Linked DNA regions of Homo sapiens: all the other regions are linked to region 2. The links are contacts of gene promoters, found by promoter capture Hi-C in blood cells and fetal thymus (Javierre and others, 2016). All regions are on one chromosome and are shown on one strand. Each heading gives the region's core, a stretch centred on a gene start or on the middle of the fragment in contact. The rest is flanking DNA. Distances are from core to core; before and after follow the strand shown. Region 1 overlaps AIFM1 (apoptosis inducing factor mitochondria associated 1). Region 2 holds the start of UTP14A (UTP14A small subunit processome component). Region 3 has its middle 7.1 kb from the start of ELF4. Region 4 has its middle 9.0 kb from the start of APLN. Region 5 overlaps AIFM1 (apoptosis inducing factor mitochondria associated 1). Region 6 has its middle 29 kb from the start of APLN. Region 7 overlaps XPNPEP2 (X-prolyl aminopeptidase 2).

Evidence for each region. The method cuts DNA at HindIII sites, captures the fragments that hold promoters and counts their contacts. A CHiCAGO score of 5 or more calls a contact.
Region 1: a contact is called between a fragment that was not itself captured here and the fragment with the promoter of UTP14A in region 2, in 1 of 17 cell types (activated CD4 T cells). The highest score is 9.1, in activated CD4 T cells.
Region 3: a fragment that was not itself captured here is called in contact with the fragment with the promoter of UTP14A in region 2 in 5 of 17 cell types (neutrophils, M0 macrophages, non-activated CD4 T cells and 2 more); the score reaches 8.3 in neutrophils.
Region 4: a contact is called between a fragment that was not itself captured here and the fragment with the promoter of UTP14A in region 2, in 11 of 17 cell types (activated CD4 T cells, non-activated CD4 T cells, neutrophils and 8 more). The highest score is 18.1, in activated CD4 T cells.
Region 5: a contact is called between a fragment that was not itself captured here and the fragment with the promoter of UTP14A in region 2, in 11 of 17 cell types (activated CD4 T cells, naive CD4 T cells, naive B cells and 8 more). The highest score is 11.6, in activated CD4 T cells.
Region 6: a fragment that was not itself captured here is called in contact with the fragment with the promoter of UTP14A in region 2 in 9 of 17 cell types (activated CD4 T cells, total B cells, non-activated CD4 T cells and 6 more); the score reaches 13.1 in activated CD4 T cells.
Region 7: a contact is called between a fragment that was not itself captured here and the fragment with the promoter of UTP14A in region 2, in 5 of 17 cell types (activated CD4 T cells, neutrophils, M0 macrophages and 2 more). The highest score is 7.5, in activated CD4 T cells.

Annotation. Positions count from the first base shown.
Region 1 is chrX:130,138,829-130,142,288 of GRCh38, reverse strand. It overlaps AIFM1 (apoptosis inducing factor mitochondria associated 1), which reads left to right. Exons shown (of 16, transcript NM_004208.4): 7 at 1,672-1,756; 8 at 2,418-2,494. It also overlaps a transcript of RAB33A not described here. Among named protein-coding and RNA genes, the nearest start is that of AIFM1, 25 kb to the left of the region's middle. The HindIII fragment of the contact is 2,918 bases long and covers 689-3,460 here.
Region 2 is chrX:129,904,636-129,907,821 of GRCh38, reverse strand. It overlaps UTP14A (UTP14A small subunit processome component), which reads right to left and starts at 1,658. Exons shown (of 15, transcript NM_006649.4): 1 at 1,586-1,658; 2 at 380-455. The coding sequence starts at 1,611. It overlaps LOC105373335 (a long non-coding RNA gene), which reads left to right. Exons shown (of 3, transcript NR_188631.1): 3 at 1-558. The HindIII fragment of the contact is 20,573 bases long and covers 1,226-3,186 here.
Region 3 is chrX:130,115,816-130,119,468 of GRCh38, reverse strand. It overlaps a transcript of RAB33A not described here. Among named protein-coding and RNA genes, the nearest start is that of ELF4, 7.1 kb to the right of the region's middle. The HindIII fragment of the contact is 1,944 bases long and covers 834-2,777 here.
Region 4 is chrX:129,662,171-129,665,680 of GRCh38, reverse strand. No RefSeq gene overlaps it. Among named protein-coding and RNA genes, the nearest start is that of APLN, 9.0 kb to the right of the region's middle. The HindIII fragment of the contact is 3,664 bases long and covers 1-3,509 here.
Region 5 is chrX:130,157,234-130,160,529 of GRCh38, reverse strand. All of the region lies in intron 1 of AIFM1 (apoptosis inducing factor mitochondria associated 1), which reads left to right. It also overlaps a transcript of RAB33A not described here. Among named protein-coding and RNA genes, the nearest start is that of AIFM1, 7.0 kb to the left of the region's middle. The HindIII fragment of the contact is 637 bases long and covers 1,096-1,732 here.
Region 6 is chrX:129,681,762-129,685,200 of GRCh38, reverse strand. No RefSeq gene overlaps it. Among named protein-coding and RNA genes, the nearest start is that of APLN, 29 kb to the right of the region's middle. The HindIII fragment of the contact is 211 bases long and covers 1,548-1,758 here.
Region 7 is chrX:129,746,557-129,750,261 of GRCh38, reverse strand. It overlaps XPNPEP2 (X-prolyl aminopeptidase 2), which reads right to left. Exons shown (of 21, transcript NM_003399.6): 6 at 3,581-3,667; 7 at 2,509-2,655. Among named protein-coding and RNA genes, the nearest start is that of XPNPEP2, 9.4 kb to the right of the region's middle. The HindIII fragment of the contact is 1,587 bases long and covers 1,326-2,912 here.

The DNA of each region.
Region 1 (3,460 bases), core at 898-3,397, 230 kb before region 2:
TCTCAGTTCATGTCATTGCCTCTAGAAAGCTTTACCCAACCCAACCTGACTAGATTGCACATGTCATATGTTCCCAGCGCTACCTGCACTGTTCTTACCACTTACATCACATTTGTCACTCTTGATTATTGTTAGTGCTTGTTAAATTGTCTTGGCCACTAAACTCTGAAAGCAGCAAGGATCACTGTCTCAACTTGATACATAGTAGGTGCTTAATTGAATGGTCTCAGCTAGTAAAGAGTGGTGCAAAGACTGGGGCCCTATTCTCTCTGACTCCAAAGCTCAAGCTCTTAACCATAAGAAGGAGTAGGGTGCAAGGGAATTAAAGGTACTGGCAAAAGAACAGTTTGGGTGTTCTACCATTGGCCCAAATTAGTTAGAATGGAGCAGCTAGTCAAATAAACAGAGAAAATTGAAAGCAAGCATAGGAGACAGACTGAGCGAAAGCTGAAGGGATGGAAAATTGTGACCAACAAGTAGAATAATTGAGGTAGGAGGAGAGGTTTAGGAGATAACAAGATGAGGAAAAGTATGAGCCAGGTTCCAAGGTCTTCAGTGAATCAGGAGGAGTAGCCAGGAGGTGGCTCAAAACAGTGATTCGTAGGAATATAGGACTCCTCTGATGTCCCTCAGAAGAGAATGAAAGTACAAGAATCTGGAAGCAGCAGACCAGTAACCTCAAGAAGCTTGCAGAATGCCAACACCTCCTCCTGGCCTTGTGATGTGGAGTGTGGGGGAACGAACAGCCTCTATGTGTAAGCTCTCCTTAAGAGAGAGCCAAGTTTCCGTGAAGGCTACAAGTTGGAGAAAGCATTCTGTAAAAATGTTGTAGATGTAGGAGACTTATTAATAAAGTAATAATAAGTAATTCCAAACAGCCATATAAGAAAGGCTGTTCCGATTCTCCTTTTCCACACATGGGTCAGGGCTTTGGGACTGTCATGACTTGCTCTAATGTTGCCTGCCTTCTCATTGCCAATTTCCAACATATGACTGCCTAAAAAAACTGGGTACCAGAAACTGTGGTTCCCATGATTACTTGGATATGGTTTCTTAAGGATCGCTTTAGGTCAAGAACTCATTCTTCTTATTGGGCTGACAACTTTTTTTGTTTTTGTTTTTGTTTGTTTTTGTTGTTGTGGTTTTGGGGTTTTTTTGTTTTGTTTTGTTTTTGAGACAGAATCTTGCTCTGTTGCCCAGGCTGGAGTGCAGTGGCATGATCTCGGCTCACTGCAACCTCTGCCTCCCAGGTTCAAGCGATTCTCCTGCCTCAGCCTCCCCAGTAGCTGGGACCACAGGCATATGCCGCCACACCTGGCCAATTTTTGTATTTTTAGTAGAGACGGGGTTTCGCCATGTTGGCCAGGCTGGTCTCAAACTCGTGGCCTCAGTGATCTGCCTGCCTCAGCCTCCCAAAGTGTTGGGATTACAGGCATGAGTCACTGTGCCTGTCCTGGGCTGACAACTTCTTATTGACCTGGAGTTTTGGGGTGGTGATGGAAATGTTCTGAAATCAGATAGTGGTGATGGTGGCACAACCTTGTGAATATACTGAAATCCACAGAATTCCACACTTTAAAATGGTGAATTTGATGTGAATTATATCTCAATAAAACTTTTTCAATGCTAATTCATCTCTACCTCTTTTGTGTATGTGTGTGACTGTACCAGGTAGTACAGCTGGATGTGAGAGACAACATGGTGAAACTTAATGATGGCTCTCAAATAACCTATGAAAAGTGCTTGATTGCAACAGGTGAGCATTTCTGGAGATGGCTTTCTTCCCTGATACAGCTCATTCAAGTTTTAGAGTCCAGCCTTCTCTATGGAAGGCATTACTACTTAAGAAAATGGAAACCCAGACTCTCTGAAGTGAGTGTCTTCTCTTGGTACAAAAGCTGGCTGTGTCAAAGCATCCTGGATCACCAGCCCTTCTGGATGATCCTTGCTGTTCTCCCGGTAGAGGCATGAAGAAGTTGCCCTTTTTTCTCTCCCTGCTTAACCCTCACCCTGTGCCCTGTGCCTTGAAAGTGATGTCGTTTGTGGCTTCATTGCCAGTTGCAATCAGAAACCAAGAGAGGAGACAGAAGCAATTTATCAAACCCATGTAGCTATGCTAGCTGGCAAATCCTCATGAGAAACTAGAAGAGAACATGGAAGCCAAAAGTAAGGCCTTTTGGCCACCTAGGGGCAGGGTGTACCCCTTGAAGACAGACTCTCAAATCTGCTTCTCAAAGGAAACTGACAGAAAGCCTGCTGTGAGGCAAGCTGAAGGCAAACAAAGCCTTGGTATCCTATCCTGTTGTTGCCGCCATGGTGCTAAGTGAAGAGGGCTCCACCTTTGTGTGGTGGAGGGAGTATTGTTTGGGCTGGCTCCTGCTTGTTGGGCTAAAGGGTTTTCCTTCTCTTATTTCCAGGAGGTACTCCAAGAAGTCTGTCTGCCATTGATAGGGCTGGAGCAGAGGTGAAGAGTAGAACAACGCTTTTCAGAAAGGTAATTGTCTGCTTTAGTGTTTTCCTTGTGTTGTTTTTGAAGAAGTAGTATAATCTTGCAGTCCCCAAGTGCCCACCCGGGACTTGGGAGATCCAAGTTCTATTTATGGCTCTTCTCCAGACTTGTTATCTGGCCTTGAACAAGTCACTTCCTCTCTCTGCACCTCAGATACCTCACTCAAGGGTTTTAAGCTCCTAGGGAAAAAATGGAGTGTTTGTATTGCTTGCAATAGATCCTTCTGATTGCTCTTCCATAGTTGTTTTTTCCTGATGTGTTTGATTCATTGGAACCCCTTACAGCCTCTTGGCATTTTTCATTGCAAGTGCTGTGTAGAGACTTCTGAGAAAAAAGTTAAGAGTACCTAAATAAAAAGCAAGGAGGTGTTCTGCTTCTTAACACTGTGCTTATAAAAACTGCTGTCATTTTTCAGGGATAAGATTTGTCCTGTCTTTTTTTTTTTTTCGAGACTGAATCTCGCTCTATCACCCAGGCTGGAGTGCGGTGGTGCGATCTTGGCTCACTGCAACCTCCGCCTCCCGGGTTCAAGCGATTCTTGTGCCTCAGCCTTCCAAGTAGCTAGAATTACAGGCATGTGCCACCACGACCGGCTAATTTTTTTTTTTTTTGTATTTTTAGTAGGGACGTTTTACCCTGTTGGCCAGGCTGTGTACTGTCTTTTAAGTTCTTCCTAGAACAAGGCTTGTCAGCCTCTGCAGTATTGGCATTTTGAGCTGGATAATTGTAGTGGGGGCTGTCTTATGCCATTGTAGTATGTTAGCAGCATCCTGGCCTCTGCACACTAAATGCTGGGAGCACCTACTTGCCCTGACAACCAAAAATGTCTTCAGATATTGCCAGATGTCCTCCTGGGGAAGATAGGGACAAAACTGCCACCAATTGAGAACCACTGTTTATAGAAGGAATTTTACCATGAAGAAATAAATTTGCATTAATAACATAGAAGTT
Region 2 (3,186 bases), core at 409-2,908:
ACCACGCCTGGCTAATTTTTTGTATTTTTAGTAGAGACGGGGTTTCACTGTGTTAGCCAGGATGGTCTCAATCTCCTGACCTTGTGATCTGCCCGCCTTGGCCTCCCAAAGTGCTGGGATTACAGGCATGAGCCATCACCCGGGCCTGTTTTGGTTGGTCTTATAAATTATACTTATGCAACTTGAGGGTAGTGATTGTAACTTAGTTTCCAAATCCTCATAGCACTTAATATGATACAGTATCTTATATATGAAACACTAACCATTTGCAATTTATTTGAGAGACCTGAACAAATACATAGAACATTGTCACACCCTTCCATTCCAGGAATGTGCTCTCTACCCTAATTTTGAAGGCAGTTTAGCAATTGTCACCCACCTCATCTTCACTCTCACTCAAGAGGTAGTCTTTTGGCAAATCCGCTAGTTCTTCCTGTTGGCTCAAAGCCAGAAGGCTGTTAAAAGAGGCAACAGAGAAATGTGAATGCAATATACCCATGTAACAAACCTGCATATGTATCCCTTAATTATAATAAAAGTCGAAATTAAAAAAAGAAATATTATTATTTGAAGCAATGTCTAATCTATTAAAACAATCTCGAAAACATTGTAATTTCAGCACAGAATAGCCCTATCCCTCAGAAGATATATAAAGCAGCGTGAATGCCTTTGGAAACTTGTCAAGATGTGAAATTTAGACTGAAGTCAGGCATCACCTCCAAGAGTGATGCCTGACTTCAAAACTGCATGTAAAAGAGCTATCACTTTTCAGGGATTGGCACAACATTTCCTATGACCTATGGGAAGCTGTAAAAATGTCAGACCCTAGAATAATATGGCCAAAGACGCTGTTGCTAGCTAGCCCTGGAGGCAAGGCAGTTTCACGATTAATATTTCTAAGCATCCTCCATATATTTGACTCATTGATAGGCAGCCTAATCAAAAGTGTTATCTTGATCCTTGTTCCCAGGAATGGAGAAACAGGTCGAAAGCAGCTGGGTAAGCCACTTTCCCTGGGGCTTGCTTAGTAAAGTAGGTGCTTAACTAAGGAGATTGGTACCCACAAACAAATTATAAAATGTACCATTACCTAACAGCATATATTATTAGTATTTGCAAAGCCAACATTACTAAACGGACTACATTTAGTTCCGGGGGCGGGGTGGGGGGGGCACAAAACATCACAGGAGCCAAAACGTGGTGGATGACTCCAATCAGCAAAGCTTTCCAAGATTCGGGGAGTTTATAACGCCTGCACTGCCTGCGCAGAGGATTAAATCGGGCCGCGACAGAGGCAGAAAAAGGGGCCACGTGACGAAAAATGTGAAACACAGTAAATGAGCTGGGGAGGCAGAAACAGCATCAGGACCAACAGGGATGCGGCTATACAGCTGAGGAGCGGAGTAAGCGAATGAAATTAAATTAAAAGGGCTTTAAAGGCTGGATCGCGGAAAATAGGAACGAATGGCCAGCTCTTCAGGGGAACCACTGCCATCTGTTAAAGGGGGGGCTCCCATTTCCCAAAAGCTGGGGAACCCGGCCCCCAACGAGACCCAGAATCCCCCCTCCCCTCGTTGCCCTTCACCTCTCTGCAAGCCGGTTCGCAGTCATTTCAGCAGCCAGCTTCTCTCACATGGACCAAGAACGGAAGCCGAAGGAAAGCAATTTCCGTGCGGGCCGCAAAGCAATTTCTGTTTCCGTCAATCGCTCGCGACGTACACGTCACTTCCGTTCCGTACGAGGCGTGAGAGAAGCAGGAGCCGTGTAGGGAGGGGCCTGCAGAAAACTGGGAGGCCTGAGATGAAACGGCTGTCAGCGGGTGGGGCATTCCTTTCTCCACCCACCCCGTATTTCTCTGGCGCGCGGGTGTCTGTCCTCCTGGCCCCTGGTTTCCACGTGGCCCAAGGTGGGTTAGCTTAGGGCGACGGTGCTGCGCTCTCAGGGGCTGAGCCCGCGCCTTCATTCGTCACTGCAGAATCCAGAAGGAAAGACTACAGCGCCCGTCCTTGTGCGACGGCGTCCTGCAAGCCGACCACAAGCCAGCTCGGGGGTTTATTGAATGCCTATTAAGTGGCCAGATTGTGCCGGGCCCCGGAGATCCGATGGTGAACATAACAAGTTTCCTTCCATTTAAGGAAAAATCGCCTTTGATCCCTTGTAATTGCAGCTTTGTTCTTCATTTCCTGAGTCAAAAGATTTTTTTTATCCAAGAAGGGGCCATCAGTAACTACGCTTCCTCACCTCCCATCAACTTAAAAAAATTTTTTTAAACAACTTTTTTTCTCCCATCAACTTTTAAGAATTTTATTTATTTATTTTTGAGACAGAGCCTTGCTGTGTCGTTCAGGCTGGAGTGCAATGGCGTGATCTCAGCTCACTGCAACCTCCACCTCCCGGGTTCAAGCGATTCTCCTGCCTCAGCCTCCCGAGTCGCTAGGATTACAGGCACCCGCCACCATGCTCGGCTAATATTTGCATTTTTAGTAGAGACGGGGTTTTGCCACGTTGGCCAGGCTGGTCTAGAATTCCTGGCCTCAAGTGATCTGCCCGCCTCGGCCTCCCAAAGTGCTGAGATTACAGGTGTGAGCCACCGGGCCCGGCCTAATATATATATATATTAATTAATGATTGTAGAAAAATAATAGACAAGAACATTCTTTTCATTTTTTTTTTTTGAGACGGAGTCTCACTCCGTCGCCCACGCTGGAATGCAGTGGTGCGATCTCAGCTCACTGCAAGCTCCGCCTCCCGGGTTCACACCATTCACCTGCCTCAGCTTCCTGAGTAGCTGGGACTACAGGCGCCTGCCACCACACCCGGCTAATTTTTTTTTTTTTTTTAAGTAGAGACGGGGTTTCACCGTGTTAGCCAGGATGGTCTCGATCTCGTGACCTCATGATCCACCCGTCTCGGCCTCCCAAAGTGCTAGGATTACAGGCGTGAGCCACGGCGCCCGGCCCGTTCTTTTCATTCTTGTAATCCATTCCCATTTTGCTTTTGCCCCATTATTCCACAGAAATTGCTCTGGACAAGATCAGCGACACCCAAAGTTGCTAAATAAAACGGATACCTCTCAGTCTTTGGCTTCCCAGAACTTTGTGTGGCATTTAGTAACTGTTGATTTCTTTTCTTTTCTTTTCTTTTCTTTTCTTTTCTTTTTTTTGAGACGGAGTTTCGCTCTTGTTG
Region 3 (3,653 bases), core at 556-3,055, 210 kb before region 2:
GATGCCACGGCGCTGGCTTCTTCTCCCAGAGCAGGACCTGAGCGGTGAGCTCTTCCCCAAGCCCCCCTAGGTGACCAGGAGAGGATCTGATAAACTAATTTGTGTTAATGTGATAATGGGAGCTAATGGGGTCACGTGCTAACCACGGGTCCAAGTTCTAACTCAGCATCACAAACTCAACCCCAAGTTAAGGCTGCAGAGATGGGAATTTTGGGCTGACTAATCTCCACAGCTGGCTGGAGGGGGTGGGGGAGTGGGAGGAACCGAAGCCCCTGGACGATCCCAGGGTCTGGTGCCTTTGAGCTGCTGTCTCGGTTTCAGTTTCATCCTTGGCTGACACATTCCTCCGAAGAGTGGAATTGCTTTGGTTTCCCTCCAGCCCCTCTCCCGTCCCTGGCCACCTCCGTCTTGGACTGCTAGCTCCCCTCGGTCAGCCCTTCTCTTCGTGAGGGGAGAGATGGGAAGATAATTTGGCAGCGACGAGGAAAAAATGTACACGTAGACATCCTGAGACGCACAGGCTCACATACCATACTGCTTTGCAGACAGACATGTGCACATGCCCTCCACGAACACACATGCATGCACGAGGGGACCCGACATCCAAGACTTGAGCCCACACACACACAGGCATATGCACACACATGCACACCCCGAACACAGTTATGCCCTCACTCACATCTGTGAGACCCACACAGACACGCACATAGGCAGGCAAGGCCCAGAGAGCCATGTTGCACACAGACCCACATGCACACTCATACACCCTCACACACACAAACCAGCAGCAGCCGCCGAGTTGGATGGCTTCCTCAAAAGAGGGCTGGAAAGCTTGTTTGCTGCCAGCAAAGGGGCCTAGACATTCCGTGAAGTGACTCATACTGCACCTTTATACACATTGTTATATTTTTCTGCATTCAACAACAACAACCCTCAACCCCGATGTGGGGGCAGGGTGGGGAAACTGAAGAGTGGCTGCATTTCCACTGGGCCTCTGCTATGCCTCTGTCTAGCAAATGTTTCAGGCCTGTCCTCACTTCTCAGTGGATTGTGGCAATCCCAAAGAGCAGAATTGTCTACCTCCTGGTACAAACCTCAGCCCAGGCCTGCCCCTTGGGAGGATGCAGAGTGGATGAAATTGGGGGCTGATGAGTTCCCCTCATAGACAATCCCCCATCCTACCTCATCCCTAGTCCTGGATATCTGGGGCCAGGCCCCATGGTCCCCTGTGGTGTCCCAGTCTGAGCCCCTCCTGATCTCTCCTCTCCAAGTGCCCTCCCCAACTCTCCTGAATCTGGCTTTACTGCCACCTGCTTGCACACTTCCGGGCAGTGGCATTCACTTTATATAATACGTAGAGCCCCGTGCAGTGTGACTGGAGGCCCCTCCCTTCCCCTGGGTCTCTTCTCCATCTGAGGAAGAGATGTCAGCTTGATGGCTACTTGTGTCCCCATCCCCCAGCACACTCAAGGGCCTGCAGAAATTCACTTTGTGCTCACTCCGGCAAAACCTCCCTGTGTTGACAATCTTGGTCCGCCTGCACCGGGCTGTGGGGAGATCAGCTAAGGCCAGGGCCTCCCCAGCTTCACTCTGAGGACACATCAGAGGTCAAAGAGATGACACAGGACAGGTGTTGGGCCAGCAGTTATTCATGGCTGAGGGGTTAACTCTGGCACCACTGGACAGAAGCCCCAAACCCCTGAATGCTGCAATGCCTCTGATAGGAGCCCAGGGCAGGTGCCTGCCTCTTTGCCCTGGTCCCAGGGACTTTTGCAGGCTGAGCTTTGGCTCCAAGGTAGGAGTTGGGGATCAGTGGAGTTAGAGACTCCAGGGGGCTTGCCCTCATCTCATTTGCTGACTCTGCCTAAAGCCAGTTCGTCCTCATTTTTTTTTTTCTTTTCAAATGAACCACAGGTTTGTGTCTTTCCATCTCCCACACCCTCCAAATTTCCCACCATCCCAGAGGGCCCTCCTGAAGAACACGGAATCTGTTTCCCAAACAACAGGCCCACTCCCCAGCTGTCGGGGGTTGGGGGGTAGTGCCTCCCAGCAGCCACCACGCTCAGGGTGAGCACCTACTCACAGCCAGCAGCGCCTCCTGTGTCGGCATCATCCCCTCCAGGCAGCCAGCCCTCCTGAGCTGCTGTCCAGCTCGAAGACAATTGAAAGCCGGTGATCTTCTGAAGTTTTGTAGGGGCTTTCATGGTGCTGGGAGGAGACATGTATAACTGTTTTTTGTTTTTTTGTTTTTTTGAGATGGAGTCTTTTGCTCTGTCACCCAGGCTGGAGTGCAGTGGCACAATCTCGGCTCACTGCAAGCTCCGCCTCCCAGGTTCACACCATTCTCCTGCTTCAGCCTCCCGCGTAGCTGGGACTACAGGAGCCCGCCACCACGCCCGGCTAATTTTTTGTATTTTTTAATAGAGACAGGGTTTCACCATGTTAGCCAGGATGGTCTCGATCTCCTGACCTCGTGATCCGCCCACCTTGGCCTCCCAAAGTGCTGGGATTACAGGCGTGAGCCACAGCACCCGGCCAATGTATAACTGTTTTAATGATTGTAAACTGAGCAGGGTGGGCTGCAGGGACCGAGTGGCTTTCCAAGAGCCCCAGTCAGGCATGTCTCCCAGCCTATGAGGGTGGTGCAGATGAAAGTTGTGATCTGGGAAGTGGCTACCAACTCCATCCTCTCATCTGCATGCCTGTGCTTTAACCTGAGTCCACCTCCATCCCCAGTACAGGCCAAGGCCACAGACCGTCATCTGTGAAGAAAAGCTTTGGTATAACCAGCCCATGTTGCACACAGATCCACATGCCAAGGAGTTAAGTGAGGAGAGGGAGGAAGAAACCAGCCACCTTGTCTCCAGAACCTGGGGTGGCCAGGCGCGATGGCTTACGCCTGTAATCCCAGCACTTTGGGAGGCCGAGGTGGGTGGGTCATGAGGTCAGGAGTTCGATACCAGCCTGGCCAACACAGTAAAACCCTGTCTCTACTAAAAATACAAAAATTAGCTGAGCATGGTGATGCGCACCTGTAGTTCCAGCTACTTGAGAGGCTGAGGCAGGAGAATCACTTGAACCCGGGAAGCGGAGGTTGCAGTGAGCCAAGATCCCGCCACTGCACTCGAGCCTGGATGACAGAGTGAGATTCCGTCTCAAAATAATAAAAATAATACAAAAAATTAGCTGGACGTGGTGGCAGGCGTCTGTAATCCCAGCTACTCGGGAGGCTGAGGTAGGAGGGCTGAGGCAGGAGAATCACTTGAGCCTGGGAGGCAGAAGTTGCAGTGAGCTGAGATCGCGCCATTGCATTCCAGCCTGGGCAACAAGAGCAAAACTCTGTCTCAAAAAAAAAAAAAAAAAAAAAAAGGACCTGGGGTGATTTGCAGGAAAACATGATGGGCTATCAGGCACTGCTTGAAGAAAGGAATTCTGTTTTGCAGCTATTCAACAAGCTTTTTAGAACAAACACTGCTTATGCTGACCAGACACAACCTTGACTTGGAGATCTCTGTGTGCCACTTGGATACCCATGGCCTTGTCATGTAAACCCAACAGATGCAAACCTGGGGTTATTGAATGCAACAGAAGAATGAGTACTGGCTTTATAGGAAGGATTATAGGGGGTTTCTCAGATTTATAGGTGGGAGGCT
Region 4 (3,510 bases), core at 428-2,927, 240 kb after region 2:
CTTCCCACTCCCCCAGAAGAATGGTTACATTGGCCAGTATTGTAATGATTCCTCAAATTAGTAAGGCGTTTCATGGTTTATAAAGCTCCTTCCCTTTCATTCTCTTGTTTTGATTCTTATTCAACCCTGGGAGTGAAACATTGTTTTCTCATTTTTTAGAAGAACTTGAGGGAGCAAAGCACAGATGTTCAGACCTATTCATTCATTCATTCATATATGCATTGATTGGGAAAATGATTGAACACCTACTATGAGTTAGACACTGGCTAGATGCTGAGGACACAGTCATGAAACCAGACAGCCATGGCCCCTGCCCTTATGGAGTTCAGTCTAGTTGGACAGTGAGGGGTGGATGGGGTGAGCCAGACATTAACTGAACACAAACTGAATTGTGAACTATGAGAAGCGATTACAGGGGAATTTCAGCCAGTCTGAGGGCCAAGGAAAACATCTCTTGAGGAGGAGTGATTTGACATTAGAGATGAGCTGATTGATGATAGGCATTAGCCAGGAGAAGACAGGGTAGAGCAGAGAATCATTCAGTAGGAGGAAAAAGTATTGGGAAGGCACTGTGACAGGAGGGACATGGCATTGCAGATAGAAAGAGGATAAGAGGCAAGAGAAGAGGCTGGCGAAGTGGGTAGGGGCTAGATTATGCAGGGCCTTGCATGCCATGGTTAAGAGTTTGGTCTTGTCCTAAGAGCCATGAGCCACAGAAGGTTTTCAAGCCAACTGGCATAACCATTCTGGTTGCTATGGAGAATGATGTGTGAGGAATGACAGGGCTGGAACAAGAATAGGGCAGCAGAAACATAGAGACGTGTAGATTTGACAGATATTTGGAGGTTAAATTGGCAGAAAGTTCATGCTGTGTTGATTCCAGCATGCCAGAAATGTAAATGGAGGTAGTGGGGTGTAATGGGTTGAACAGTAGCCCCCGAAAAGATATGTCTATGTCCTAACCCCTGGAACCTGTAAATTTGACACCTCATTTAAAAATGGTCTTTGCAGGTGTAAGAAGTTTAAGGATCTCAAGAGAGACATACTGGATTATCCAAGTGGGCCCTAAATCCATTGCTGACAATCTTTATAAGAGTGAGGCAGCCACGCCTATAATCCAAGCACTTTGGGAGGTCAAAGTGGGAGGATCACTTGAGGCCAGGAGTTTGAGAACAGCCTGGGTAACACGGCAAGACCCGTCTTTACAAAAAAAATAAAAAATAAAAAATCAGCTGGTTGTGGTGGTGCTTGTAGCTACAGCTACTGAAGAGGCTGAGCCAGGGGGATTGCTTGAGGCCAGGAGTTCTAGGTTATGGTGAGCTATGATCACACCACTGCACTCCAGCCTGGGCAACAGAGTGAGACCCTAGAGAGGCAGAAGGATATCACATAGACAAAAGGGTCAGGTCATGTGAAGATGAAGATGGAGGCAGAGATTGGAGGGATGCAGCCCTAAGTCAAAGAATGCCTGGAGCCACCAGGGGATGAAAGAGGCAAGGAAGAATCCTCCCTTACACTTTCATTTTATCTTTATTTATTTTTAATTGACAAATGATAATTGTGCATGTTTATAGGGTACAATGTGAGGTTTTGATCTATGCATACATTGTAGAAAGATTCAATCAAACTAATTTACACATCTATCACTTCACTAATTTATCATAAACTTCTCACCCTAGAGCTTTCTTGATTTCAGATTTCTGGCTTCCAGAAGTGAGAAGAAATAAACTGTTGTTTTAAGCCACGAAGTTTGTGGTAATCTGTCATAGCAGCCCTGAGAAATTAACACATGGAGTTTTGCTGTAAGATGGCTAGTTTTCTTTCTTTTTTCTCCAGAAGTGTTACCTTTTAAATTTTAGTACAATATTTGACTCTCTCTTTATGTGTATGGGAAATGTATGAAAGTCAAAAAGTAAGAACCTCAAAAGATCTCAGTCTGTGGCCATGGTTAGGATTCAGGTAGTGACTGGTGTCAATCCAAACTTGAGTTTGGGATAGAACAAAGCTGACCTCATTATCTCTCTGACTTTGACCTTATTATCCCAGAACTCTAAGCCCATAACGGAACTGGTCATAGACTCAATACCGTGTCCTCAACAGTCTTTGCCCTGGCTCTGCAAACAAAGGTGCCAGATTTGAGACATATAATATCTTACATGATATAAGCCCAGATAATATTAACCAGCAAAGCAAGAGGAAGAAAGGTTCAATGGACTTTGGAGATAAACCTGCTCCTTTGGGAGTGGCTATCCTAACTCACAGGGCCTTGCTGCGTAAGGAAGGAATTCACATGCCTCCCCTGGGAGACCAGGGTATTTATAGACCGTAGGGGAGAGGAAGGATGGAGGCTCCTGGGAGACGTCATAGAGGATATGCAGAGGAAATGAAACTGCTCTGAAAGACAAACAGGAGGAATGGGGACCTGTGTGGCTATGGGAGAGGATCAGAAGGAATGAAGCAGGATGTAGGGAAAAGGGGGTAATTCTGTGGAGCTGGGCTGGGCTGGGGGCAGGAACAGAGGAACAGTTCTTCACCTCAGAGAATCTCTCTTAGGACTTATTCAGCTAATAAACTGTGAACCCTTCAAAGACATTTGAAATATAGCTGATTATCTGAATTCCACTGACAACATTTTTCAGGAACTTGGGTGTTGTGTCAAGGAAGGCGTATCTGTGGGAACCCCTGGTGTTCCTTGAATATATCAGACGATCTGAGAAGGTATGTAGTTTGCAAAGAAGTTGGAAGAAACAGAGAAATGGAATAAGCATTTCCAGGGCAGTTGGAGCCCATGTGGCAGTGGCTGAAAGGTGTCCCATGGAAGGAATTAGCATGTAGTGACTTGAATATAGTATTAAACACTTGAGATGTGAATAGAGATAATGTGGTTATGCTGCAAAATGGCTACTTCTCTAATTTTTGCAAACCTGATACCGTGTGATGGTTAGTATTTGACTCTGTGTGCTTGGGAAGAGGGCAAGTGTGAAAGACAAGATCTCGGTCTGTGGCCAGGCTTAGGACCTAGCTGGTGATCAGAATTAAGAGGTATTGGACATCAAGACAAGAATCACACAGTTAGCTGAAGAAGAAACCCCAGCAAAGTCCAACAAAGAGATTATTCCCTCAAAATGATTATTAGGATCTTTTGATTCACAGAATAAGTTCCAGGCTAAGTTTCACATAATGAACATCATGTCTCTGATTTAAATGGTCTCACACCCAGAATGGGAAAGTGAACCCATGAATATGGCTTAAGCATCTACTACTCTATGGCAAGCATTGTGCTGGCTGCTCTGGTGGTTATAGATGAGTTAGAAAGCTCAACTCTAGCCGTTAGTATCAGAAAGACAAATACTCAGTAATGAGAGAGTGAAAAATTCATGTTCTCTTGTGGTGGTTAACTGAGCAAAGATAATTTGTCATGAAGCTAGTTAGTGAGGCATCAACTAGCAGCTGGCCCATGCTTTTTTCCCCCAAGTTCCTGTTAAGTAGCTTCAGAGGCAGGGTAAGCTT
Region 5 (3,296 bases), core at 165-2,664, 250 kb before region 2:
TCCTTCATTAATTCAACAAATATTTATTGAGCAAACATCTGTGTGTCGTCTGGCGCTGTTGCACAGGTCAAACTGGCTTCTTAAGAATGAAATCCTAAGTGTGAGGAAGAAATTGCATTGTATGTGTGGTCTGACTGCAGAAAACCTAAAATAAGTAAACTGCTGCCATGATGAAAAGTCAAGGAGTAAGTTGGCTTTTCCATGTTAGTAAGACAAGTGAAAAGGCATGTTTCAGTCACGATGTAATATTTCCTAAAATTTTGAAGCTATGGGGAGAAAGGTTTGGGAGGAATTTCATAGGGAAAAGAAAATGTGGGGAGGGGGAATGTAAGCAAACAATACTTAGTACATTTTACAAAATTAAAGTCACTTTGTAGGTATATAAAAAGTTTTAAAAGTTGGTTTATTAATGAGAGTAGTGTATTACATTTCTTTTCAAGCAGTAGTTTAAATATTAACCAGTTTACTTTTTTTTAAAGTCAATTTACTTTTCCAGCCTGGACAACATGGTGAAACCTCGTATCTACAAAAAATAGAAAAATTAGCTGGGCGTTGGTGGCTCACGCCTGTAGTCCCAGCTACACAGGAGGCTGAGGCTGGTGAATGGCTTGAGCCCAGGAAGCATAGGTTGCAGTGAGCCGAGATTGTGCCACTGCACTCCAGCTTGGGGACAGAGTGAGACCCTGTCTCAAAAAAAAAAAGTCCATTTACTTTTAAATGCTTTTTTCTTTTTTTTTTGGCAAATTGAGACAAAAGCTGCTGAACTTTCCTAAATCTACACTGTTAGTATTATCAGTTTGTGAAAAGCAAGCAGAAGGAGAATAAACATGAGTATGATATTAAAACAAATTTGTTATAATGTCTGTATTTAGGGTCTTCTGGAGGAATAAACAGAATTAAAAAAAAGAAAAACAAAAACAAAAAAAATTTATTTTTAGTAAATGAACCAGGGGTAGAGGTGGAGGACAAACTAAATTCATTGAACTAAATCACATGGAACTTTTCCTAACCAGTTTCATTTTCTAAGCTCTGAGAGTTACCACTTTCTACTTCTGATGGTTCATTATTTTTGTAAGCTTCTGAAAATCAAAAGCTTGCCCAGATTGAGATAAGTTTCTGCCCCGCTCACGTTTTTATTTTCATGATTTGTCATTATTTCCAAATCTCAACCATTTTATTTCATGTGGTGATGAAGAGTTCTAAAAGCAGGTAAGAAGAACAGTAAAGAAAAATACATTTCCTTTTCTAAGAGTGTAGATCTAAAGTCTCTTATCTGTAATTCAGAAATTGAAATTGTAGAATGACCAAAATTTAAGACTATCAAGTTTTCATAACTCATTTGCCAGTAAAACCTGACCTGAACTGGAGAGAGGCTACTTTATAATCTTTTTAAAATATCACTTAGCGTGATTGGTCATATTAATATGTTTAACTATGAATTGCTGCCCTTTACCTTGCTAGGTGTCACTATGTGGTATATGCCCCATATACTTAAGACCAGATAATTCAAAGTTCCAAATTATACATGGTCCCCAGGATTTCAGATGAGAGACCACAGATCCACATTGGGCTTGTTTTTACCCGTCTGTGGCCTAACGTTATGAAAGCAAGGGGGAAATTCCTTCTCTAATCTCTGCAAGTATACATGGGATGCTACTACCAGTGTCCATTCTGTTTGTCTTTTAAAGCCTAGACAGGACAGGGACATAAGTATCAGCCTCTAGACTAAGCTTGTCCAACCTGCAGCCCAACACAAATTTGTAAACTTTCTTAAAACATTATGAGATTTTTTTGCGATTTTTTTTTTTTTTTTTTTTTTTTTTTTAGCTCATCAGCTATGGTTAGTGTTAGTGTATTTTATATGTGGCCCAGGACAATTCTTCTTCTTCCCATGTGGCTCGGGGAAGCCAAAAGATAGGATATACCTGCTCTAGACAGATGGTTCTCAATGTGTGGTCCCCACCCTAACAGCAGCAGCAGCAACAGCAGCATCCCCTGGGAACTTGTTAGAAATGCACATTCTTGAGCCCCATCCCAGATCTATTGAATCAGAACCTCTGGGCCTGGGGCCTGGCCAGCTTTGTTTTATAAAACCTTCAGGGCATTGGGATACACTCTCAAGTTTGAAAACCACTGCTCTAGATCGGGGTCTGCCAACTACAGCCACAGGCCAAAGCCAGTCAGTCACCTGCTTTTGTATGCCCCAGGAGCCATGAGTGGGTTTTGCATTTTTTTTCTTTTTTCTTTTTCTCTTTTTTTTTCTTTGAAATGGAGTTTCGCTCTCGTTGCCCAGTCTGGAGTGCGATGGCACAATCTCGGCTCACTGCAACCTCCGCCTCCTGGGTTCAAGCTATTCTCCTGCCTCAGCCTCCCGAGTAGCTGGGATTATAGGCATAAGCCACCACGCCCGGCTAATTTTTTGTATTTTTAGTAGAAACAGGGTTTCTCCATGTTGGTCAGGCTGGTCTCTAACTCCCAACCTCAGGTGATTCACCCTCCTCGGCCTTCCAAAGTGCTGGGATTACAGGCGTGAGCCACTGCACCTGGTCTTTTTTCTTTTCTTTTTTTTTTTTTTTGAGACGGAGTCTCACTCTGTTGCCAGGCTGGAGTGCAGTGGTGCGATCTCGGCTCACTGCAACCTCCGCCTCCCGGGTTCAAGCGATTCTCCTGCCTCAGCCTCCCGAGTAGCTGGGACTACAAGCATGCCCCACCACACCTGCCCAGCTAATTTTTAACGGGGTTTCACCATGTTGGCCAGGATGGTCTCGATCTCTTGACCTCGTGATCTGCCCACCTAGGCCTCCCAAAGTGCTGGGATTACAGGCGTGAGCCACCACGCCTGACCTACATTTTTTAAACGGCTGAAAAAAAAAAGAATTTCGTGACACATGAAAATTATATAAAATTTAAACTTCAGTGTCCATAAAGTTTTATTGGAACATGGCCACATCCATTCATTTATGTATTGTCTTTGGCTGCTTTTATGCAGCATCAGTGGAATTGAGTAGTTGCAGCAGACACCAAATGGCCCAGAAAGCTGAAAATATTTACCATCTGGTTCTTTGCAGAAAAAATTTGCTGCTCTAGGTTGATAGTCAACAAACACGAGGAGTAATCACAGAATAATCAGAGACTGAGACCTTCCTTTATCTGAAAATGTCAGCGTCTCCCTAGAAAAAGAAATCTACAGAACTCTTATATTTCTATGTACAGGTGCTGTTATGATCATCACATCATTACATAGCTCTGCATAGTTTTACGTCAAAATAACCTTTGTATTATTTTGGAGGAGTAAG
Region 6 (3,439 bases), core at 404-2,903, 220 kb after region 2:
GAAGCCATCTTTGATTCCTCTCTTTACCTCATCCATGACATCTAATCTATCAGGCTATCTGGTTGACTTCATCACCAAACATATCCTTAATCTTTACACTTTTCTCCACCATCCCTCTGCCCACCAATCCACTCTCCATAAGGAAGTCAGCATGATCTTAAAACACCAATCAGATCATTTCCTTCTCCTGCTTGAAACACTCCAGTGGATTCCCATATGTTCATGACCTAGAAGGCCCTGCCTGATCTGGCCCCTGCATTTCTACCTTGATCTCCTGCCATGTTCCCATCCCTTGCCATGCATCTTCTTCCTGTTCCTCTAACAGGCCAAACTCATGACCACCTTTGAGCCTTTGCTCTCATACCTCCTGCCTGGAATGCTCTCCCTCTGAGATGGTTCCTTCTTATGATCCAGATCTCAATTTAAATGTCACCTCCTCACAGAGGCCTTCCCTACCTCTTTACAAAATAGCTACTCTCTTTTCTCTGCATGGCTCTTATTACTAAAGATTTTTGGCGGTTGTGGTGGCTCATGCCTATAATCCCAGTGCTTTGGGAGGCTGAGGCAGGAGGATCATTTGAGCCCAGTTTTAGACCAGACTGGGCAACATAGTAAGACCCCGTCTCTCTCTACACACACACACACACACACACACACACACACACACACACACACACACAAAGCTAGGTGTGGTGGCACACGCCTGGGAGGCTGAAGCGGGAGAATAACTTGAGTCCAGTGAGTTACGATCACGCTGCTGTACTCCAGCATGTGTGACAGAGTGAGACCCTGTCTCTAAAAAAAAAAAAAGAAAAAGAAAGCTTTTTAAAATTTTCTGACCTACCTGTGTTTCCCATCCACTAGAATAAAAGCTCCAGGAGAGCAAGGAGCTGACTTCTCTTATTCATCATTTTATGCTCAGGATCTAACATAGTACCTGGCACATAGCAGGTGCTCAGTAAGTAAAGGGCTCATAGTCCAGTAGCAGAGGTTGGTGGATACAGCAAGAATGGTGGACAGAGAGCACTGTATGGTCCTTGGGGAAATGACAAAGGAACAACAGTCTGGAGGAAATAGAAGGGAGTAGAGAACATGCTGACCCCACTCCGAGCCTCGGGCTGGTGGAGGGAGGAGGCATGTGACCTCCAGAAAGGTCTGTGGTCCAGTTTCAGCTCTGCCACTCACCAGCCAAGTCACTCAACTTTTCTGAGCTGTCGTTTCCTCATTTGAAAATGAGAATACTAATACTATCACGCAACAGCATTGTTGTGGGGACTGTGTTCAATCCCTTCAATGGGCTTCCCATCTCCCTCTGGGTAAGAGCCAAGGTCACCATAAGACCTCCAAGGTCCTGCTCAATCTGTCACCGCCCCCACCCCCATTTCCTCTCTGCTCTCGTAGTTACCACTCCTTCTCTCACTCACTCTTCTCCAGCCCCACGGGCCTCCTCCACATGCCTCAAACAGCTAAGCACATTCCTGCCTCAGGGTCCGTGCCTAGCTATTTTCTCTGCCTAGAATGCTCTTCCTTCAAATATCTGCAAAGCTTCAGTGGCATCATTCAGGCCTAGTCTGAAATGTCCACCTCCTCCGGGAGACCTTCCCTGGTCAACTAATCGGACATTGCATTCATCTCTCTGGGCATTCCTTCTCCTCCTTCTCTGCTTTGTTTTTCTCCATAGCACTTATCCTATTTTTGCACACTCACTTGCTTACTTATTTTGTATATCATCTGTCTTCCCCCACTAGAGTGTAAGCTTCATGTGAGCTGGGAGTTTGTCTTAGTCTCTGCTCTACCTACAGCTTCTAGAACAGTGGCACATAGTAGGCACTTGGTAAATCTCTGCTGAATGAATGAATGAAGTGTCAACATGGTGTCTGACATGTAAAAAGTGTTTGGTAAATGGGAGTTATTATTACTGATAACTATCTCTTTATGGAGTAACTTCCTATGCCCAGGGCTTAGCACAGAGCCCTGTACTTAGCAGATGTTCAGTTGACATTAGCTGAAAGAGGAACCCTACTTGAGGTGGAAAGTACTACCTGCCACAAGAGAAACCCAAACAACCCAGGCTCTAAGAGTGCAGTGGAGGGAAGGCCAGGCCTCAGCCTGTTTCTAAAAACCAAATCGCCAACCATGATCCTGGAAAAGAGCCCTCCAGCAAGGAGACTTGAGACAAAAGGTGCTATGATCTGAGTTTTTGTGTCCTCCCAAATTCATATGTTGATATCCTAACCCCTAACATGATGATATTAGGAGGCTGGGCCTTCGGAAGGTGATTAGGTCATGGGGGCAGAGCCCTCATGAATGGTATTAGTAACCTTATAAAAGAGGCCCAAGAGAGTACCCTTGGCCCTTCCACCTTGTGAGGATACAGCTAGGAGGTGCCATCTACGAAGGAACTGGGCCCTTGTTGGACACCAAATCTGCTAGTGCCTTGATCTTCGACTTCCCAGCCTCCAGAACTGTAAGAAATAAATGTCTACTGTTTATAAGCCAACCAGTCTGCAGGCCTTTGTTATAGCAGCCCCAATGGACTAAGATAAAGGGAATTTCCACAAAGGAACACCAGGAAGCTATGTGGATCTTTAACTTGGGGTCCCTGTTCCTCTAAGTAGTCTGTGGCTGGAATTCAGAGGATTCATGAACTTAGATGGGGAAAACTACATCTTTGTTTCTGCTATCTTTTAACTATATTTTAGCATTTCCTTCAATCATGAATGCAGGTGATAAACCACCATAGTATTAGAGGACCTGTGACTTGGCCACCAGCAGAAATTACACATATTTTCATATCACATTAGAATGAAGCACATCTCTTGAAATAGCAATATGTTCATCATTGCTTTGAAATTGTGATAGTTATAAGACTCACAGCTAGATTTAGTTATATAATGTGCTAATAATGAAGCACAGACATCACAAATTTTAAAAAATATGTTGGAGACCGGGTGCAGTGGCTCATGCCTACAATCCCAGCACTTTGGGAGGCCTAGGTGAGAGGATCACTTGAGCCCAGGAGTTTGAGGTTACAGTGAGCTATGATTGTGCCACAGCACTCCAGCCTGGGAGACAGAGTGAGACCCCATCTCAAAAAAAAAAAAAAAGTTGATAGCTATATTTCACTATACTTGGTTTCCATTTAAATCCTTTGTATTTTATGCATCTAAAAATATTATTCTGAAAAGGGGACCAAAGGCTTCAACAGATTGCTAAAGGGTCCATGACACAAAAAAGGACCAAGAGGACCAAGAGTGTGTCTGGTTGCAATTGGTCACAATTCTCCTAGAATACGTGACATCTTCCAAGAAGAGCCTAAGTCGGTCAGTGCAGACCCTTTCCAGTCATTCCTGGAATGGGTGGGGACCCTCCAATCCCCAACAATCTCACTCTCTATCACAATATGTGTCTATTAATTAGTTTCTCAAATGGCAAAAGG
Region 7 (3,705 bases), core at 870-3,369, 160 kb after region 2:
GGATGGGTGACCTTGGGCAAATTACCTAACCCCTCTGTGTTCCATTTTGCACATTTGTAAAATGGGGATGGAGTATAATAAGCATCTGCCTCAATAGGGCTGCTATGAGGATGGAATGAATTAATATTTGTAAAGCACACAGAATGGTATCTTGAGATGTAGTAACTCTTGTATCTTTCTGATTAATAAATAATCATGCAGACTGAGATCAAGAGAGCAGTCCTAGTTGAAGGACAAAGGGGTAGGGCTGGGGCCGTGTTCAACTTTCTCTGCAGTAACCCCAGTATTTACTAAGCCACGGGTACTGGGCTAAGCACTCCATGTGCATTGTTCTAATTCTTACCCATCCCATTTTACAGATAAGGAAACTGAGGCTTCAGAGAGGTAAAGTGACTTGTCTAGGGTTTCATGGATGCAAGAGGTAGAGCTGGGATTTGAACTCTGGTCTGTCTGACTGCATGGCCCACGCTCTTAATCTGTACAGACACCGTACTGTCTTGATAACATTCTCAGTCTCCAAATCTGTCCTTAAACTCTGTGTCACAGCACCGTCCTTTCTCAGATGCTTATATCTGGGTTCTATGACTTTAGTTTTCATCTTCTATCCCTGCCCCCTGCAAGATATTCAAAGAGTCTACCCCTAGGCAGGACTAGGAGTTTGCTGGCCGAAGGCCATAAACATTAAGGGTCCTAGTTGGGTTCAGATATGAGCATAAATAACTTAATGTCGTGAAAAATATTTCATGTGAACAGGTAAAACTATTCAACAATGACCAAAGCTTTGGGTACAATACATTTTTGTAGGTTTATTTTACTACATATTTTACACATAATTTATGTTATGTGTATTTTACACATAACATAAAACATATCATTTTAATCTTTTTAAAGTGCACAATTCAGTGGCTTTCAGCATACTCACAATGTTGTGCAACCATCGCCACGATCTAATTCTAGAACATTTTCTTCATCCCCAAAGGAAACCCTGTACTCACTAAGGAGTCACTCCCTATCCCCCCTCCCCTGAGCCCCAGGAAATCCCTAATCTATTTTCTGTCTCTATGGATTTGCCAGTGCTGGATATTTCATACAAATGGAATTGTACAATATGTGGCCTTCTCTGACTGGCTTCTTTCACTTGCAATTATGTTTTCAAGGTTCAGGAATATGATACCTTTCTGAGAAACCAAATGAACCCAAATTTCAATGGTCTGGTGCGTACAGGTATGTTTGAGTAGCGAACTTTTCATGTTCTGCCCTTTGCACTCTCCTTTCTCCTTTAAAATCTGCAAGTGGCTGGAAAGTCTCTCTCGTCTTTATAAGCTTATTGAAGCTGAACTCTGTTCTTCGGCTTCCAAACTCAAGCTCCAGGTGCCTTTTTCTTGAAGACTGGCAGCGGGTGATGACTCGGCATCCCCTCACTTTTGGGAAGTGACAAAACCCTTCCAGCCCCAGGAAGGTTTTTCTTTTTTCCCTTCCCCTTCCCGACATAACTTTGACTTTCTTTATCTGAATAAGATGAGTTTTATTTATGATTTAACAGTCTTGGATAACAAATTTCTTTAAAAATGGTGTCAAGATGCAGAAAGAATGATTCTGGAAGTTACATCAGAACAGATAAAGAAAAATGGACACAATTTTCACTTGTTTCGTCATGGCTGCTATTTTGAAATCTCCCTCCTGCTGTATTGGCTCCTTTCTAAGTGAGAAATTATGTGGACTTGCATGCGGAAAGGGATCTCTTGGCTTGATCAATGTTACTAGGAATCCAAGTTCATTGGCTCATTCAGAATTCCCAGGGAGATAGGACTGGTTGGTGGCCAAGACACTGATTCATAATCAGTAGGCTGGTCCTGGTCAGGACTTTAGTTACGACTTACAGGAATCTTACAACATACTGTTCTTTTGTGATGGATTTAGATAGTGTCAACGGGGTCAAGGTTATTGATGTTATATTTTTCTAACCTTCCTGATTGGTCCAGCAAAACCTGAACTGTAATCTGTGCTACAGAATGACTCTGAACTTAGTTATTTACTTCCTCTGTCCACTCCTGGCCCACCTGACCCCAGCCATCTCACAAATCTAAATTCTTCATCACAAGAGGGTCAGAAGTAAAGGTCTGAATGATTCATTATGGATCAGTCTCTGCCACCAGGCAAGCAAATCATATCATGATTTTTTCTCTCTTGAAAGGGGTTGGATATTTTCTCTCATCTTTCTCTGTTTCCCTTCTTTCCTCCCTTCCTGCTCCATCTTGTTTCAAATCCTAACATTCTTTAACCCAACATTTTCTAAATATGGCCGGAGGACATTTTGATTCAGACTCCTCAAGGGGAGGGGGCCCTGAAATCTGCATTTTAAACAAGCATCCCAGGTGACTCAGGTGCATGCTAAGGTTTGCAAACCACTGCTTTGGTACCTCTGATGATGAAGTTTGCCACCTACGGAATAGCAGCCGGGACCTGCGTTGCTACAAGTTGGGAAGGAAACTGGGCTTACTGAATCACCTGTGAATGCCTCCTGCAGGGCATAAATGGGTTGATTTGGAACCGGTGGCCTCTCTGATCCCCATACCAGGTCCACAAGATTGGTTGTGATGGACACCAGCTGTCTGTTAGAGCCTTGGAGGGCCAGATCATAACTCTCCCAGGTGTCTGCAGAGACAAGAAGGAGTCACTTGTCCCTTGCCCATTTACACCCCAGGAAAAAATTGTGATTCAGGCAAAGTTAGTCCTGGTTCCCTTTGCCTCCCTTTGCAGCCCAGCTGCCCGGAGCCTGCCCCAGCAGCCTGCCCACCCCCCACCCCCGGCATGTATGCCCACGCTGGGGTATGTTTCTCATCCTCTTTCTGCTTTCCAAGCCTAATGCCCTGAGCCTACTCTAACACTGACTGCCACAAATTGGCTAAGCTTGTCTTTTTCATTGCCAGTGGCTGTGGGTGGTCCTTCTCTTGGGCACTAATTATTTTATCAGGGCTTCAGTGTCACAGTCAAAAGGAATGGTGATGTTCAGGCCATTGGACAGGCTGGCAGAGAAGCCAGTTCTAAAGCACAAGCCTTTCAGTACATATTCATGAGGACTCCCCTTTGGGGGAATGGGCTTGCCAGCTGTCTGAGGCCCCAGAACTCCGGGAGTTGTATTCTCAGGGGCCCTTTTTTTTTTAAACTCAGAAGCCCTCCCAACTCTTTTGACCCTTCTAAGCTACCTTCCAGAAGAGGGTTACCATGTGATTCCAGCATCATCATTGGCAGGGTTCCAGGGCACAGAGGATGGTTCTGGGTTCAAGCACATCCTGGCCTATTCATCCACTAGCTCTTTAATGATTCACTGAGTCTTCTAGGTTGGGTCTCTGCACTCATGAATTTTAAAATATTTGTACTGATTCTTTTAAATGTATTTTAATTACACAATCCATGAATACATCCTCATTGCAAAACATTCTGCAACTACAATTTCAAATGCTCTATCTTTATAGTCCCACCGCCCCTCCTTCTACCAAGGTCCATTTCTTTATATCCTAGGGAAGCTGAGTCACCCTCGTTAGCATGGACAAATTCAGGGACTGAAGGAAGAGCATACCAATGGACAAGAGGAAGGGGTCAAAACCCACACGCCCTCCAGCAGGAATCTCGGTGAGGAGCCAGGTGACAATAGGAGTGGTGCCAACTGAAAGAAAGATAGGAAGCAATGCAGAGGTCACCTTC